2 separate regions of the Homo sapiens genome follow, and region 1 is linked to region 2. Evidence: promoter capture Hi-C in human tissues and cell types (Jung and others, 2019). All regions are on one chromosome and are shown on one strand. The core of a region is centred on a gene start or on the middle of the fragment in contact, and the rest is flanking DNA. Distances in the headings are between cores, read along the strand shown.

Region 1 (4,135 bases), core at 1,458-3,957, 200 kb after region 2:
TATTTAATATGTGATTCCACTCTTTTGTTTATTTGGGCATACAGTTATTTAGCCAATCAATGTTATCTCTTCTACCATGAAATAACCAGTCTCAATGCTTTCACATAGAGAGGCTTCTATGGAGATTCAAATTTCTTACTGTTTCTTTGCAGATGATCATCTTTTACTATCTAACTCCCTTGAAATCCTTTTTCCCCTCTGAAGAAGTTTATCTAATTATTTCTTGCAAACACATACACTTGTGAGAATTTCTTGTACATTTCAAATATTTTGACTAATTAAATGATTTTTTCTAATTTGTACTTGTAAAAGTCTATATTTGATATCTGCTCTGCAATTGACATATAAAGTCTAAAAATTAAATCTGATAAAATTTAATTGTAACTGCATTCTTCAATGCATTTAGGGGTTAAGGCCAAAATGAAATTATGGAAAATAGTAAACAAGGAAATAACTAAAGGACATTTAATGTAATTGTTTGAAGTTGTTCAAATGGAATCGATCTGAAATGAAGCTACTGAAAACAGTACCCTGTCATTCAAGACCTGGTTCTAGAGTATGTAATCAATTTTGATTGATGCTTCTGGTGACATGCTAAGTCCTTGATAACAGAGGGCTACAGAATGTCAAGAACAAGGCTCCTTTTTAAATATATCACATGTAATTTTAACTCTGGAAACCCCTAGTGTTGATTACCATTGTGCTCTGTGGTCATATGTTAGTATTGTCTCTTAAGTGCTGTGCAGGAGATCATTTACATAATGAATTAATTAATCTGTTCCCCCTAAGTCCTCACTACACTGTTACACTGTTACCCTCTTGACCCAAAATGTCTGTTATAGCCTGTCTTCATAATCTTGACCATACTTCACATTTTAATCTTTTTCCATTTCATGGTTACTATATGTATGAATTCTATCCTAGAAGTATTCAGTAATTATTCTGAACCTACGTTTTAACCATCTATCACATTTGGACTGTATCTCACTTCCACTGTTGTAGGTCTACTTGGTATTTATTTTTACAATTCTAATGCTTCAGTGTCCGAGGGGGGTTTTCCTGTGATTCCCTAGAACTTGGAACTTAGAACTTGAAAAGATTTGCTCCTTTATAATCTTTTTTTAAAAAACAGATATATTAAGATATAATTCACAGACCATAAAATTCAACCATTGAAAAGCGTACAATTCATTGGCTTTTTATTCAGATTTGGGCATCTTTGTGCATCCATCATGACAATCAATTTTAGAACATTTTATTACTCTGAAAAAAAAAAAACCACCATCCTATCAACTACTCCTTAGCTGATATGGTTAGGCTTTGTGTCTCCACCCAAATCTTATCTTGAATTGTAATCCTCATAATCCCCATGTGTCAAGGGAGAGAGACCAGGTGGTGGTAATTTGATCATGGAAGTGGTTTCCCCCATGCTGGTCTCATGATAGTGAGTAAATTCTCATGACATCTGATGGTTTTATAGGTGTTTGGTAGTTCTCCTGCATTCATTATCCTTTCTATCACCTTGTGAAGAAGTTTCCTTACTTCTGCTTCACCTTCTGACATCACTGTAAGTTTCCTGAGGCCTCCCCAGCCATGCTGAACTGTGAGTCTATTAAGCCTCCCCCTTCCTTTTTAAATTGCCCAATCTTGGGGAGTTCTTTAGAGCAGTGTGAAAATGGACTAATATATCAGCCATCTGATATTTTAAATAGAAGAAAAATAGAGCAGAGAATGGATATAGAAGTGTGGGTTTGGGGAGGGAAGAGGTAGTTTGCATTTATAAAGTAGCTAGAGAAGTCTGAGAAGGTAACATTTAAGTTAAGGTCAAACAGGCAAGCTGGCTGTGACTTTAAAATATATTTTGGATATGGGGCCTCTTGATGATATAAATGGACTAATTCCCTCTACCTATACTTTGAGTAAGTTATCTTATAATTGGAAATCTCTGCTCAAGAAAGACTTTTCTGATATTAAACATGGAAATACACTAACTACTAATATTAATAGGAATAGTAACAATAAAAACCTACAACATGGATATTAACAGTTATCGCCTCTCGTTTGTTTCCAAGAAAGACTCCCACCACACAGTGTAAAGATTCCCCATCAAATAGGCTAATGTCAAAATGCTAGTTCTGCTTGTAAACCCACTTGCAGTGGCAGATAAGAGCCTGCCATTTCCCTTCTTAGTAGTTTCTGATATTGATGTTGTACACGTGTCCCTGTGATGGGTAGCATGCAGAGAGTGATGCTTCATTACCCAATATCATTTTGCACTTGTTATCTCTTTCTCATGGATGAAGTGCACAAGATGAAAGGGGTTAACAGGCTCAAACCACCGTGGTAGACACAGTGCAGTGCATAATGAGCAGAGAATTCTTTTCCTTCTAACTTCTAAATGCCTACAGCAATTATGTTCTCTTTCTAATTATTCTCTTGCAAGTGTGTACATATGATTTTGTGTTGAAAGAACATTGCTAAGGGAGTAAAGAATTAATAGACACTTGCCCTTACAAAGGGAACTGTGGTTACTCTCTAAGGACACAGTTTAAATCTCTAATATTTCCAAGTACTGCTTTATTGTTTGTTTATACAATGCAATCACTAACTAAGTGGTCAAAGACTAGATATGGTTTCCATAACTAAACAAAAAATAAAACTAAGAAGAGCAAGCCTATATCTATCACCAAGCTTAGGAAATGAAACAAACCCTCCCTCTGAAGTTTCCTGTGTGCATCTTCCCAAAGATTTTGCCTCTCTGTCCACTCTCTATGATAGCCACTAATCATGAATGTTTTACTAATCATTTTCTAGCACTTATTTACAATTTTGTTATATAGGCATATGTATCCTCAAGCAATAATTTGTTTCCTTTTTCTGGTTTTAGCCTTTACATAATTACAGCCAGACTAAGTGTATTATTTTATGATTTAATTTTGCACCCATTTAATTTAGACATTTATGTTATATAGACACCCATGCACATGTGCACAAAAATATACATATAACTATTCGGTAAAATAAATGAATGTGTAAGCATATAATTTGTATTTGTTAATCTCTATAATTTTATATATATATGTAACTTTACACATCAAGCAGTGCTGCCATAGATGGTGTTGTGAATGTTGTGCATGTTTTTTGTATAGAATTGAGGTTCTCTAATAATGGATATCTGGATTTTATCATATGATTCCCCTTTAGATTTACTAGCTCATGCAAAAAAGCTTTTCTGAAGCGATTATAGAAAACTCATACTATTAGCAATGCAAAGTGTATGCCAGTCTTTATACCTTGGCATTGCCATCTCATTTTCAAATAAGGATAGGCATTTTTGTTTGTTTAAGAAAGCTCGTATCACATTATGCCACCAAATGTCAAATTACCTAATGCGGTATAGCATTTCTTATCTTTGAAATCCTATGTTTTCCAAATGCTAAATTGACAGTCACTTAAATAAAACTCAACTCTGTTCTTTCTGCTGTCCTCTTCTCTTCTTGCCTAGTGTTCCCCTTGCATTAGTATGTGAAAAATATGAGTCTCTTGCTCTCCCACTCTCCTGTGTGTGGTACCACAATGCATAGAAAGAAATATGGCCTTGGAAAGGAAAGCATTCATCTGAGTCAGAGTTCTGCCTAGCCTTGGGCAAGTCACCTAAGTTTTCATTAGCTCACACAGTTCACAAAAGGAAAAGTAAGGGTAAATAACAAAGCCTATTCATAATAATCGCTGTTGCAAACAATGGAAATATTGTATTCACAAGCCTGGCAGAGTGCCTGGTACATTTCAGGCAGTTAATAAAAGGCAGATAATATTTTTATTACAGAGACTTCACATCCAAGACCTTAGTCCTCATTTCACCCTCCTACCTTTTTTGACAGTATCATTTCTCTACATCTGTTTTCATTAACCAGCTTGATTTTATCCCTCTACACATACTTTGTAATTCAGTACATTTTTCACTTTGGATATTTTAAAATGTCATATATTCATAATTAGCATTTCTTTGAACTACAGTTTTGCAGACTAAATTCCAATATTATCACATTTGTCCATCTTATCCTGTTCACAGTAGATATTTTGTTAAGCTTAAAGTAATTGGCAAGAAAAATAATTCTCTGCTTAAACTGAGAAA
Region 2 (4,416 bases), core at 1,113-3,612:
TCAGTGGTGTAGAAATAAAAGCTATTTTATCCTTCCATGCTACATGTCCATCTAGGGACAAATAAGACTCCAATGTTCTCTTCTTTCAACAACCCATGCTGATAGAGTGCGCACAAATTTATATTTGTTCTTCAATATTCTGTTTGGAAATGGCAATATTCTTTTCCATTCATGTTTCATACTAAGATGCCAAGACTGGGGAGAAGTGCATCCCTCCTACAGGGAGAGCAGCAAAAATCTGCAAAACACACACACCAATGTAATTTATTACATGATCATTTTCAATCTCTTTCAAATCTCAATGATTTCATTAATTTGATCTTCTCCACTCCACCTTCAGATGCTCTTTTTTCTTCAACTTTTGCCGTTTGTACTAATAATATTGCACATCTTACAATGCGCTAGGAGGGGTCAAAACATTTATTTTTTAAATGACAGATAGTAAACATTTTAGGATTCATATTGTAAGTCTCTGTGGCTACTACTTGACTCTGCCATTGTAATGCGAAAGCGGTCATGGACAATACATAAAGAAATCGGCACCACTGGGTTTCAATAAGTCTTTATTTACAAAAGCAGGTGGCTGGTCTTCTGTTGTAATTTGTAGACCCCTTAGCTAGAGCAATGACTGTCCAACCTGAATGTGCATTGGAAGCATCTGGAGGGATATTAAAACATAGATCGCAGTGTCCCATTCTCTTAAAGTTTCTGATTTGATAGGCTTGGGGAAGGGCTTGAGAACTTGTCTTTTCAACAAGTTCCAGGTGATGTTTTTGCTATTGGTCTGGGGACCACACATTGAGAACTCTCGACCTGTAGTACAAAGACAATGTTCTGTAGTCAATGACCTATTATTTGTGATCAAAAAAGGAATTTAAATAAATGAAAAATATACTATACAATTGAGGGAAAAGCAATGTTTATGATTCATTTTTTCATCAGCATATTCTTTTCTTCACAAAATCCAAGTGACCAAACTTAGCCAGAGACTGCCCTGAATGAAATATTTATTGGCTACATAAATGAGTTACAATAAAGTTAGCATTCACCTTGTTATAGTGACACAGCATACAGTGTGTAAATATTACATTTTTCCGTGCCTCCCTTCACGTGATAGACAGGTCACGAAATTGTTTTGTTTGTAAAGTCTCCCCAAGCCATTTCAATTTGTCACGATACACAAAGCTTGGCTACACCACCTACATCAACACATTTGTATTCAGTGAAACAAAAAGATTTCAGACAGTCCCAATAATTTTATTCTTTTTCAACACTAGCATTGAAAAGACATTGTTATTTGTGTACAGTCCTCCTGTAGGGAGACATATTTTTAAAACTGTATTGAGACTCTGTACTCTTGAGATTTTTTATAGAACAAAATTAAATGATTATCTGAAATATTGTGGCATTCTTGATGTCTGAATAATAAAATGACTTAGAGTCTTAGAAAATACACGATTCTTGGTGAATATATTTAAGCAAATGTTTATTCAATAGTTAGCACTTTAATAGTGAAACACAAAGAAAGATAATCATGGTTAAAGAATGCAAAGTTGTTTTGTGGCTTTTGGAGGAATAGGTTTTCAACAATAACACTTTTCATTGTAATATTTTATTGCCATTATAATATTCTATAAAGTTTTAGGTAATTATTAATAAATTCTCTCATATAAAGAGAAATTAACATTAATTTTTAAAATCTTACAATATTTAAACATGACAAAATTAAAACAGACCAGACTAATGTATATAGTCTTAGCAATCTTGAGTTCTTCATAGACTCTGAACCAAGTTAAATCAGCCTAGAAACAAGTAAGTGAATTAGGAGAAATTGCTTGAGCATGGTTATTGTCACCAATAAGCATCTGATTCTCGTTTAGACAATTAAACATTGAGACAGCTTCCAGGTAAACGTAATTAATTGTCTTGATTCACAAAAAAGACTCAAGCGACTTAGTGGAGGAAAGACTAATAGAACCCAAGATTTTTTCCTCCCAGGTGACAGTTCTCTGATATGCAATAGATCTCAAGCATTTAAAAAGCAAAGCTTCGGGTGCTAACCCAGGTGCTATCACTTTCTCAGCGCCTAATCTTCACCCGCTGCTAGGCTCGTTTAATGAGTCTTCTGAGAGCTAAGGAGTCCTCGGATTCATTCAAAGCATTCTACAATGAACGCTAGGGGGGAAAAAGAACAAACAAAATACATTTCAAATATAGGATTCAATTACTTTTCACTACTCAATGATGTGTCAAAGGCACGCTGTGTTTTGTTTTGAGGGCGGGGAGATGACAGGAGGGAATCCTGGGCCCCCATTGGCTCGCCGCTCGCCGCTGCAGTTGAGCTCCAGCCGCTCCGAGAGCATTATTGATCTGAAGGGTAAATGTGGAGGGAGCCACAGAGAGGGGTCCAGGCTTTTCTGAGAAGAGAGGCAGCCTCTTCCAGGAAGAAAGTGGTGTCTACTGGCTGCCCGGCCTGGAGAACCTTCTTTGAATGAAAACGGACAAAATGCAAAGCAGTGTGTTGGCACAGTGATTTGGAAAGGGGAAACAGAAGAGAAGGGTCTCACCTTCCGCGCAAGGCTGAGCTGTTGGCACCCTGCTGCGGCCGTCGGTGCTGCTGCTCCTGCAGCTGCCTTTTCTGCCATCAGGTAAGGCTTCCGTTTTTGATTGGGATTGCACCGCGTGTGTGTGATCGCTTCAGGGTGCATGCACAGAAATTCATACATGATTAATAAAGTGATGCCTAGCGTAGTGAGAAGCTGAACGAAGCTGCACACAGATCTGGCAGCTGAATTAGGAGCTTGTGCGTGGTTTTGCTTTGGGAAACTTCGGTAAGTTCTAAACAAGTCTCTGGTCCTCAGACCGTGAGAGGTTACGTGAAAAGAGGAAGGAAAGAAATGTTTTAACCTCAAATGCATCTTAGCATGGCTAAATTTTCAAATGAAAATAAGTAGGTGTGCTAGATGTCCAACTAGTTATTTTATAAATGGCTTTATAGATATCTGATTTTTACAACAAAATAATGAATGCTTTATTTTCAAAGAGCTTCCAGAGATGCCGACCCCCCTCACTCATTTCTCCACTGACGCTGAAATTTATGAACTTCATTCTTCATTTGAAAAATACCACTGTAAAACCATTTAAATGTTTTAATGGCCTGCCTCTCATGGTACAGCCATTTGAGTTTCCTACCACAAAACTAATCTGGGACAAATGAAAGAGATAGATTACCAGATCTGCTGTGGGTTATATAATATGCATTTCCAAATTATTTTAAGGTTATTGATCATTTGGTGATACATTTAACAAGGAGGAAATATGTGTGATATAGGACATAATGGCAAATCATTTTTCAAAAAAGACCTTCAGCATTTTATAAGTATTTTCTTATGTTTTTAACATCATTATTTGTTTTTTGCTACATCGGGACCACAGTGTATTTAGAACCTCTGTACTTCAGAGTACCTGATATCTCTTATACACATTTCTCTGTACTCTCTGGAGAGGGAACTGACATACTTCTGGCTGATTCTGCGACCATTTCATGATTCTCAATTTCTCATCGAGTATTTTGAAGCTCATTCACAAACTGCTCAGCTAGAAAATTACCTTACATACTGAGGGGGAAAAATTCAAATAGAGTAGATTCTGAAAATGTGTTTACAGTTTTAAATTACACTATACATGACCAAAACAGGAAAAATGCAACCATGCCAAGCAGGTATTAGTTTGCTTGATCTTCACTGTATACCTGAGCAGTTGTAAGGTTATAAAATAATATCCAGACACACAGCTGTCAAGAAATACTGAACCTCATCATTCAGTGGCAGCGCCTCATCATTAAATTATCCTAGACAATTTAAAATATCATCTTATATATTTTTATTATTATGTCAACAGGAGAATTCAACCGAGTAAGTTTTTATTATAAATAATTCCATGATTCTAGCAGAATGTCTCTTCAGAATTGAAAGGCAGATGGTTACTTTGCCCAAACCATGAACAGGTGATTGACGAATTGTTTTGGAGTGGTTGAGTGGATAGCCACATGCAAAACAGGGGCTTCCCTTTAACTAATTTAACTGATACATCGAGTTATTCAGCAACAATATTTAGAAACTGTCTCTCCACCTTCTATGAAAACTACTGAAGTAAAAAGAGGTTTTCAATTAAGTTGAAAATCGAATTCTAGAACATAACATATTTTTCTCTTAATAACTCTTACTTCAGAGACCAGTTTCCAAGATTAGCCCTGGCATTGTTAATCCCCTTCCCCATTAAAAAAATGTTTTTGATTTTCTGTGTTGTTCAGTTAATCTCTGCTTGCTGTGTTCTTAACTTCTACTGTGGTGTGCCATTTCCAAGCAGTAGGGGGAAGTTTTTAAGCCACGAATGCTTTTTTATTTTCTACTCAAA

Evidence for each region. Contacts are between HindIII fragments. The study calls those that stand out against the background at their distance.
Region 1: a fragment that was not itself captured here is called in contact with the fragment with the promoter of CDH12 in region 2 in 2 of the 25 tissues and cell types used here (dorsolateral prefrontal cortex and heart left ventricle).

Annotation. Positions count from the first base shown.
Region 1 is chr5:22,648,845-22,652,979 of GRCh38, reverse strand. All of the region lies in intron 1 of CDH12 (cadherin 12), which reads left to right. Among named protein-coding and RNA genes, the nearest start is that of CDH12, 200 kb to the left of the region's middle. The HindIII fragment of the contact is 3,566 bases long and covers 925-4,135 here.
Region 2 is chr5:22,851,290-22,855,705 of GRCh38, reverse strand. It overlaps CDH12 (cadherin 12), which reads left to right and starts at 2,362. Exons shown (of 15, transcript NM_004061.5): 1 at 2,362-2,648. The HindIII fragment of the contact is 14,494 bases long and covers 1,617-4,416 here.